Regions from separate parts of the Homo sapiens genome. Here region 1 is linked to region 2. The links are contacts of gene promoters, found by promoter capture Hi-C in human tissues and cell types (Jung and others, 2019). All regions are on one chromosome and are shown on one strand. The core of a region is centred on a gene start or on the middle of the fragment in contact, and the rest is flanking DNA. Distances in the headings are between cores, read along the strand shown.

Region 1 (4,982 bases), core at 1,287-3,786, 41 kb before region 2:
TTTATACTGTACAGGAAAACATGTACATTTTTTAAAGTTTTCTTTCAAATTTCATTGAGAAATTTGAAACAAAAAAGTGATGGTATTTCCTAATACAAATTCAGACTTGAGTCCTCAGTAAAAATAGAAAGGTTTGAGTTTTTAACTCTTGTCCTTTTTATAAATTAATAAGCCAAGGTGACGGAGTAAGACCCCATCTCTAAAAAAATAAAATAAAATAAGTACTTGTTACACATGCAGGCACTTCAGCATGATCTCCCCCCTTCTCATGGGAGACTTTAAATATCCCATGTGGATAACAGCACCATGTGAATCATAAAATTCAATTTGGAAGCTCCCTAACTTTCAGATGTTCTTTTTAAATTGCTTATTTCAAATTTTTCCAATATCAATGACTTCTGATAAGTATACGCTTTTCAAGAAAAAGGAAAATACATGCATATAATGTTTACTTATGTCATAAAGAGCGCTTAGCATAAGCAATGCAAAATGCAAAGTTGTTCCTTACATAGAATAGCCAACATTTCACTAAAACCTAAAAAATTTGAGTATGGTTTATGTTGGAAAAGTACATATGATTCCTAAATTTATGTGTTAAAATTTTATAATGAGTTTTATTTTCCCTAAATATTAGTTAAAAATTCCCCTGGAAATATTTATTCTACATTCATCCTAAAGGAAAAATTATATCTATATTGATAAAATTACTAAAAGTGATCATTTTGTAATTGTGTGATCTGAGGAAAGTCACTGATCTTATCTAGATTCCGGTTTCCATATCTGTAAGTTCAGGGAATTGTTTTACATATGTTTAAAATCTGCCTTGCTGGGCTTAGTGGCTCATGTCTGTCATCCCAGCCTACTCGGGAGACTGAGATGGAAGGATCACTTTAGCCCAGGAGTTTGAGATCAGCCTGGGCAAAATAGTGAAACCCCATCTGTGTTTTGTTTTGTTTTGTTTTAAGAAACTGTCATAATGGTCTGATGCTGTATATGTCTACATTCTTGCCAGCTCTGTCACCTACCTGGAGTGATTTGAGAGGTTTTGATTAGTATCATGCATATACAAATCTCTCCCCTGTTAGTTTCTTTTTCTACCCTAATCTTCCCTCTAGGTAAAGAAATTGAGGTGTTACTGTTAAAGGCAAATACAGGGCTTGAACTATTACTAGCCATTGATATCTACCCTAAATTAATTTTTTTCAAATCCCCCAGGGATGAGACACAGAGCAGATAGGTTTCATTGAGGTTTGAGTGCCACCCTGAGAGAGCTTGAGTAGCTGGAACACTAAAAGCGGTCCATTTTACAGCTTTGCTTCAGTTAAAACCTGATTTATACATGTGGACCCAGTGATAAGTCAAGTAGAAGAAACATTGTGGTATAATGAAGAGCACACTGGGAGTGAATACATATGCAAACATTCACTTACCCATACACTTGACATGTATGCATTATACTTTCAATTTATAAACAAAAAATTATGCACACTAGAAATAAAATAAGGAGACTTTCTCAGGTTCTTATGACAACAAACTGCGACATTCCAATCTAAACTAATGCTATTGTGATAATACAGTAGTGTACTAATTAATCTTTAACACACATAATACTTTGGTTCTCCCTGAGTTAAACAGAAATTCACTCCTCCCCTTGAGCATTCCAATCCATTGACATTTAACCCTTTATGTATAAATTTCAGAAGGATAATATTATAAATACCTTTTGGTAATAATAAATTTGACATAGTTAGAGATTTAGACTAGATGAAGAGCATTTTCTAATGTAAATCTAATGTTTTCTCATTATATAGTAACGAGATTAATGCACTGGTAGAGAATTGTAGCCTGCAAGAACTCAATGTTCCAGGAGTTCTAATAGGTGTTTATTATGTTAACAATCTTGTTTAATAATTTTCAGCTTGCTATTCAAATATCCAAAGATGGGCTACCGGGCAGAGTGCCATTATGGGTCATCCTGCTGAGTGCTTTTGCCGGATTGTTGCTGTTAATGCTGCTCATTTTAGCACTGTGGAAGGTAAACACCAAAATTCCTTTGACTCTCTACTTCAATCATCAACAGCAAACTGGAGAAATAAGCTCTGATATATTCAGACTATGTAATATAGTATTATTACAGCAATGAAACAAACGTTGAAATGATGACTAAGGGAAAGAAAAAAGAAAAATGCGTATTTCAAACACTGCACACAACTTGACCCAATTTTTGTAAAGGAAAAAAAACTTATTTTAAGTTAGAAATAGTCAAAAATTCACAAAAGTATCTTTCTAGAGTTTAGTATGATAGGGGACTTTCACATGTGTAACAATTAAAATTTTATAATAAGTATGTATTTCTTTTATAAACAGAGAACAATGAAAACTGTCTTTTATAGAGAAAGAAAAAATGAATTCCTATGTCAATTTAAGGATATATAAGCAGTAGATTCAAGGTTAAAATAAGCCTTGTTTTAATCACATCTCCATGTGTCTTAAATATCAAATAATTCTTTAATGTTTAAATATATATGGCACATTTTATGTAATAAATTGTGTGCCTGAGTGGAGGATAAGGGATCAGCTGATGTAGGGGAGATCTTAAAGTTTCACAGACTCCTATTTCAAATTCTGTGGTAAATGTGAGTAACCACCTATTTTGTGTCAAGTAACTCTGGATATTTATGTAATGTTTTGCTTAGGCTGAAATAGACATGATTTTTAAAACTCTTAGCAGCTGTATAATTTTCACATTAAGTAGAATTGAGATGACAGCTTTTGGGATAAGTTGAATAGAGAATAACATCCCATACAGAGTTGAATGTTTTTTCAATTAAATATCAAATAAGCATTTATTCTAGCATAATATCCCCCTAGATTTTACCTATTGTTTTGTTAAATAGTTAAATTATGTTAAAAATATAGGTTGTGGCTACATATTAATTGTTCTATTACCTGAGCAACATAATTATTTAATCAAATAGTTTAAATAGCAAGTTTCTCTCCCACTGAAATACCAACTGTTCCTATCCTTTCTTACTCTCCTATGACTCACTTCCTCTTTTGAGGGGCTTAGTCTCAGAGGAGATGGTGAACAAAGCCAGATGTAGGTCAGTGGCATTTAATTCAGTAAATAGAATCCATGGCTTTTCTCTAGCAAAGTTCCCCAAACAAAATTCTCCACTATAGCCAATGTCCAGCTCTTCCTTCTACTTTATAAGGGATCAGTGTTCTCTCTGTAATACCTAGCTTTGCCACACTGTGGTACCCAAGGCCTGGCTTATTGGTGTCAAGGTTGTACTTGAAATATAGGAAGTGGTTTCTTCATTTCTATGCACCTCTAATAGAGAGTGTTACTGTTGATTTTTTTCAGCATAGTCTTCTGTTCTCAGCACTGCACTTACCTCTATGGTTTTAGAACACCGCTGGCAGGAGAAGAGGAAAACCAGAGCTGATATTTGGATAGGTTCTTTCAGGCCTTGTACCTCTGTTTCAGACAAACAAATAGGAAATTTCAGTCACCTATTTTTCAGTCAGTAGTCTGAAAAAGCATAAATGTAAAACTAAGCTCATTGTTTCATCCAGATAATGATGTGTTGATACATTCTGACAGCTTCTTAGGTTATTATTAATATTATTATTATTGCAGGCCCAAAAGAAGATCATTTGACAAACTTTGGGCTGTCTTACCCGGTAGAAATAGTTCAGCCACTTCATTGGGAGGCCCAGCAATCAGAACTGTGATTCTAAGGTAGAAGGGAAGAAACTAGCTCTTATCGAATGCTTACTATGTGCAGGGAGCTATTTTAAACATTTCTGCTTTAAGCATTCCCACTTAATACTCATATCAACCTTATGAGGTCGTATGAACCTCCTCTTTTAAGTGAAGAACATAAAATTTAAGTATATTTCCCAAAGACACATAGTGAGATTCAGAGTAAGGATCTGAATTCTGTGCCAAAACCACTGACTATTATCACTCTGTGTTCTCTCTTGCTTCCATTCACTCTGGTGTCCTTGCAACAATCTTTTCGACCAAGTATTTTAACTACATTTTACACCTGAGGACATTAAAGCAAAGGGAGGTAAAGTGACTCTCCCATGATTACTAGCTAGTAAATGACTGGATTCAAGGAATGATCTACAGAGCTCTTTCTTTTTCCAATATATCCTACTGCTGCAGGCTATAGGGTAGGGCTCTTTACTCTGGAGCTCCAGGAGTTGGGTTTTGTTCAAGAGAGTCATGAACTCTCTTAAACACATAATACTGTCTTTGGTTTTGGAATGAGGGTCCCTGGTTGGATTCAGACTTTCGGTAGTTCCATTATATCAAGAAGGCTAATCCCACTTCCCCCTACTTTAAAGTTCTGTTGGAAGCTGCCTGAAGCATGAGTTCAGTTGCAGTAGGTTCAGAAGAGCTACTCTTATCCCAGACATCTTTTTTATTCTAACTAGATCTGGATCAGACACCTCAGGACTATCCCTTCTTCCTTCCTTTCCTGAATCCCACCAGTTTGGAGTTCATTGGAACTCCCAAGTCTGAGTCTCTGTGTAAGAGACAGGCCAAAAGTTTCTCTTAGAGCAGAGATTCACTTTCAAAAGACACAGTCTTTATATCTTTGTCTTCATCATACACATGGCAAAAATTAAAGCTTGACAAAGTGTTAGTAGCTGCTTAATACACTTCATGATTGATGGGAGGAATCTTGTAGGGGACGTAGGTTTAAATAGGTGGAGAAACTTGTCCTGAACTGTGGTACCACATGCCGGGGGAGATGCCAGCACACCAGGAGCCATGAGAGACTCAGAACATTCCTCTCTCCTAACTTGATGTCATAATGATGCCTGAAGTTCCTCAACTGATGATTTATTTATTAATCCTAAAGCTTTATTCTTCATCCAATATACATGTTCTGGGTGGGTGTGGATGGGGACTGGTGTCTCACCACTTTTTAGTCTTTTATACATTAGTATGAATTTATTCATTC
Region 2 (4,779 bases), core at 1,503-4,002:
TGGGTGATTGTCTATATGAAAACGGGATAAACAAAGGAGGGCAGGGCATGACGATACAACAGATCAGAAGGAAACACTGGGGAAACTTATCTGAGCCGTGTTCCCCAACAAAACTCTGTCTTGAGCTAAGGAAAAGAAAAAGAGGGGAAGGCCTCACTTCACCCCTGAGTGCTTTTTGGAGTAGGGTCTCTGGGTCTCTCAAGATCCTTTCAAGTGGCCAGTGAAGTCAAAACTATTTTCATAACAATACTGAGACGTTACTGCGTTTTTCACTGTGTTGACATTTGCCCTCATGGTGCAAGAACAAGGATGGGGACTGGTGGTCATTGTATTCTTCATCACTGGGCACTCACAGGAAGAGAAAGGGAGAGGGACACGGAGAGGCCAGCAGATCAATGAATTTTAATGCCACGGAATAGGAAAAACCATTGATATGGTTTCAGATTCCACATTGCAACTTTAAGAAACTACCACTTGTTGAGTTTTGGTGTAGTATCAGGGGATTATCCAGAATTATCTCCTGTTTTTCTAAGTCCATATCTGTGTAACACCAGATTAATCAATATAATTTCACCAAAACTACATGCCGTAACAGATTGGATGCAGAAGCAGATCTGAGAATCCAAATGTCTGTTTTTAAGCCAGATATTTAAAATATTAGCAAAAATGTAAAGCAATGCCACTCTTCTCCCGGATTCTTTCATTTGGAGAAATATAGTTATTTTTCATAAAATGTACATTATTTATGTTCACACATAATAGGATTTTTGTTAAAGGACTTACTGAGTAAAGGGCTCTTGAGACCAAAGAGTTTGAGAAGCCCCAGCTTAACCTTCCATATTTCCTGCTCTGAATGTGGTGTCCCTCACAACTGCAACTAGGCAGGAGAGCACCCTGGAAGGGGTTCTCAAACTACTTTGTCTCAGGAACACTTTATCCTCTTAAAATTAATGTGAGGCAGGAGTTTGTTCTTTGTTTCTAAAAGTTTTGCCTGGCTCTGGAAAATCGTAGCTCCTGACTTATTCTGCACTTCATGACAGTGTAATGTTAATTTGTCCAGTTCTGAGAACAAAAACCAAGAAGGATGCATGTTATTTCCCCCCACCCCCAGAGATAAAACACAAATTCCTGTCTCACATTAAAGGAAGTGTCCTGCCTCCCAAACACAGGTCTGTTCCAAACACTTACTCACATTTCAGTGAGTCAGAAGGAAACAGACAGATATTCATCTCCCTGAAACCTGGCTGACTTCCTTCAAAAAGTCTGTAAGGAGCGTCAAAATCGTGTCACCGGTTAGTGAGCAGCCACCTAAGAGCTCTCAGGTGATAGCCGGAGTTTTAGTAAGCAGGTGAGTACCCCAGACAATTCAGAAAAAAATGCCTTCAGGTGTTTGTCAAGGTGAGTAAGTGCAGCCAGTAAGTGACTGATAAGAAAACAGGAAAGAGCCTGGGACTATATAATTTGGGTTCAAAGGGTATTAGTCATAAGCCATCAGCAGCAACATCTGATGCATACCAATTTAATACTTTAACAATGTGACACATCAGCCCTATCTATAGTAAAGAGAAGAGCTTGATTTTTATGAATTATTAAGTCCTTCCCACCTTGAGCCACTTTGCTTCCTAGAGGCAGTATCTCAGGCATCCCATTCAGCTCATAGTAGCATTCCATGAAGATCTGGAATGATGACAATAATGATGATTATTAGACTCATAACTCCTTAAGCTTGATTTATGAAAACAGTTCGTTCCTTCACAAAAGTAGTCACTGGAAGAATTCTGGTTTCAGCAATGTGCTGGAAATTTGTGGCCAAACTTTTGGATAAAACATAAGATTCAGACAAGAAAAATTAATATCCTATTTCTTAGGTTTTTAACTAAAAATCTCGGATATAGAATGTTCTCTTTCCAGATGTGAGACTGAAATAATGGAAGAAAATGGTCACAGTCTATGTCATGGTGTAATGTAGACAGGGAGAGTCACAAGTGCATGTATGGGCTCTCAGCCTTTTCTCTGGCCTTGAAGTTAATCTCCTAAACTCAGTCATTAAATCAGCTCTTAATTATCTCGGAGGAGAGGAAGTAATGATGATTTCTCTCTCTCTGTCTCTCTGTCACACACACACACACACACACAGCTCTTGCAGCAGGTATTGCTTAAATATCACCTTGGATAATCATAACTTGTGAGCAGATCTTCTTTCCTGATGAGTTAGTTTCTAACCTGGTCATTCTGCGCTTATTTTTGTCCCTTTCTCCACCCACTTAGGAAAAACAGAGAAAGGGACGCACCGCGCAGCCCCTAGGCACTGTGGTTTAGGGCTAGTGCCCTCGGCACCCGCTGCCAGGAGCCGGGCGCTGCCAAGGGCTGCGGAGGGGCCACGTTCTCCCGGGGACTGGGGCATCTCCTGCGTGCTGGCGACAGGCTGCGGGGGCGGAGTGGTGCCAGGGCGGGCGCTCGCCCGTCGGATATGCCCACCCGTCCCGTCCAGGGCAGGAAAGCCTGCCAGGGCGCCATCCCCATCCCCACCGCCTCCAGGCTGCCGGGGCTGGGCCGCTGTACGGGAGCCAAGGTGCGGTGCCCCGCGTGTGGACGAGCCGAGGTGCAGCCCGCGGGGCCGCAGGGCCGGGGTGGGGCGGGGCGCGGCCGGAGCAGATCCGGTGTTTGCGGAATCAGGAGGGGCGGGCTGGGGCGGGCCCTCGGCGCTGCAGGAGCTGCCCAGAAACTTTTCCCTGCTCTCACCGGGCGGGGGAGAGAAGCCCTCTGGACAGCTTCTAGAGTGTGCAGGTTCTCGTATCCCTCGGCCAAGGGTATCCTCTGCAAACCTCTGCAAACCCAGCGCAACTACGGTCCCCCGGTCAGACCCAGGATGGGGCCAGAACGGACAGGGGCCGCGCCGCTGCCGCTGCTGCTGGTGTTAGCGCTCAGTCAAGGTAAGCGGGGATTTCGCTCTGCATCGGCTGCAGGAGGGACCCGCGCGGCTTCCTGGGGCTCGCTGGAGGGATTGGGCGGAACTAGGGAGCGAGCTCCGTGTGTTCCCTCGGATTCCACGTGGACTCGGGCTCCCAGCCACCAGGACCTGCTTGGAAAGAGATACTTCTTCGTTCCCTTCCTGCTATCCCAGGCCTTGCGTCCCCATTAGGCGCGTCTCGCCCTGTCTGTTAAGCACCCTCCAAAGTCATCTCAGTGAGTGCTTTGTTTTAGGTACACACACGCACACACACACACACACACACAGACAGACACGCACGCACTCAAGCATGGACAGTGTGGGGATCCGCGGGTGTCCTGGAGACCGCGAGTCCTGCAGCCCAACTTCCCCTGGCTCAGACAGGTGCCGCGCCTGCCAGAGACCAGGGAAATCCGGAATCCATTGCTGATGGCGGCCTGCAGCTCCCCAGCGCGGTGCTTGCTGGCTTTGCAGAAGCCTGCGAGCCCCAAAATGCTTATTTTTCAACCCAAGGATGTGAATAATGCCTCTATTTCTTACTTGAGGACGAAGCGCTGTGTTTCTTCCCGGGGGGACTTGGAATAAACCAAGCGCCACTTAAATACTTGGCAGAGGGGAATTCTTCCTTCCCTTCTGCCTTCCTCTTATTGTTGTAACATTGTCTATTCGACGAATGTAAACTTAGGCTAGGAAAAGTTCTTTTCACTTCTGGATCCTAGATGCCGCAATGAGAGAATAAGCCGGAGCAGCCGCTCTAACTGTAGTGCTGTGGCAGTGGGGCCCGCCCACCTCCTGAGTTCTTTTACACTAAGAGGAGGAAATAAGGCTGGGGTGGAGAGCTTTTGTGGGACCATCGCCTGAGTACTTTTTCCCTGACCATTAGGCAGAGCTAGAGTGTGGTCAAATTTAAGAATTTTAGTTTATTTGGAGGGAGAAGGAGACACGTTTGTATAATGTAGTTTGAACAGCGATCAAAACAAAACAAAAAAGTTGTCTCTGATTTTAAAGTGTGTGTGTGGTTTTTTTTTTTTTTTTTTACAAAGAAGATAAATATTTCCTAAGCTGTCCTCCTTTGAGACTGACATTCAGCCACTTGCTATTCTTTATTGTGGAGGAATGAATCCTAGTCCACGTCAACCTGGTGGCATTTTCTCCAGGTCAGAGATAAGAGAGAAATAGCACCACTGTCCCCAGCCCGAGCAGAGAATGGGCATCTTAGGTTTTCTGTCTCACCTGTATTGGGTGCTTCAGATACTTTCTCCGGGAACCAGATGAGTTGTTTTGAGGGGCCACCAACCCTAATCTACGGATTTCAGGTAAAGTTGTACTTGACATTGAAAATGAGTCTCTGGAATACAACTAGAGCTAATAGAAATATAAACCCAAGCTTTTCATCTCTCTGTAATTACCCAGTATTAAAATAAGCTGTGGAAACATAACATCATTTTCTTATCTTTGAAATGTTGAGGCTTGTTATGTAAAGAGCAGTGAGAAATTCTTTAATGGAATGTAACGCTGCAAGGCATGAAGTCAGGAACAGAGACTTAACCTGGAGTTAATAAGGACACCTCAGGGCAAGCAAGCAGAGATGATCGAAAATAACATCTGCAAAAGTTTTGTGCATTTATTCCCTCCTCCTACTCCAGCCATTTGTATACTCAAGGAACAGGTTTTCTCTTAATTTAAGATCCTCATAAGAAAGCTCTCTCATTTGTGATATCACTTGAGGTTCCTGGAGAAGCAGCATCGTTTTTTGGTACCATGAGTATCCCAGGTTAACATGAATAAGTGAAATCTCTAGCTCAGTAGTATCTAAAATTTTGTATGGC

Evidence for each region. The method cuts DNA at HindIII sites, captures the fragments that hold promoters and counts their contacts. A contact is called where the count stands out against the background at its distance.
Region 1: a contact is called between a fragment that was not itself captured here and the fragment with the promoter of ITGA2 in region 2, in 3 of the 25 tissues and cell types used here (IMR-90 fibroblasts, mesendoderm cells and neural progenitor cells).

What each region holds. Positions count from the first base shown.
Region 1 is chr5:52,945,427-52,950,408 of GRCh38, forward strand. It overlaps ITGA1 (integrin subunit alpha 1), which reads left to right. Exons shown (of 29, transcript NM_181501.2): 28 at 1,919-2,035. ITGA2-AS1 (ITGA2 antisense RNA 1) reads right to left here. Exons shown (of 4, transcript NR_186583.1): 3 at 3,399-3,481. Among named protein-coding and RNA genes, the nearest start is that of ITGA2, 41 kb to the right of the region's middle. The HindIII fragment of the contact is 4,453 bases long and covers 311-4,763 here.
Region 2 is chr5:52,986,600-52,991,378 of GRCh38, forward strand. ITGA2 (integrin subunit alpha 2) reads left to right here and starts at 2,753. Exons shown (of 30, transcript NM_002203.4): 1 at 2,753-2,933. The coding sequence starts at 2,870. ITGA2-AS1 (ITGA2 antisense RNA 1) reads right to left here and starts at 3,687. Exons shown (of 4, transcript NR_186583.1): 1 at 3,491-3,687; 2 at 1,605-1,677. RefSeq lists an enhancer at 893-2,092 and a silencer at 2,557-2,706. The HindIII fragment of the contact is 5,063 bases long and covers 386-4,779 here.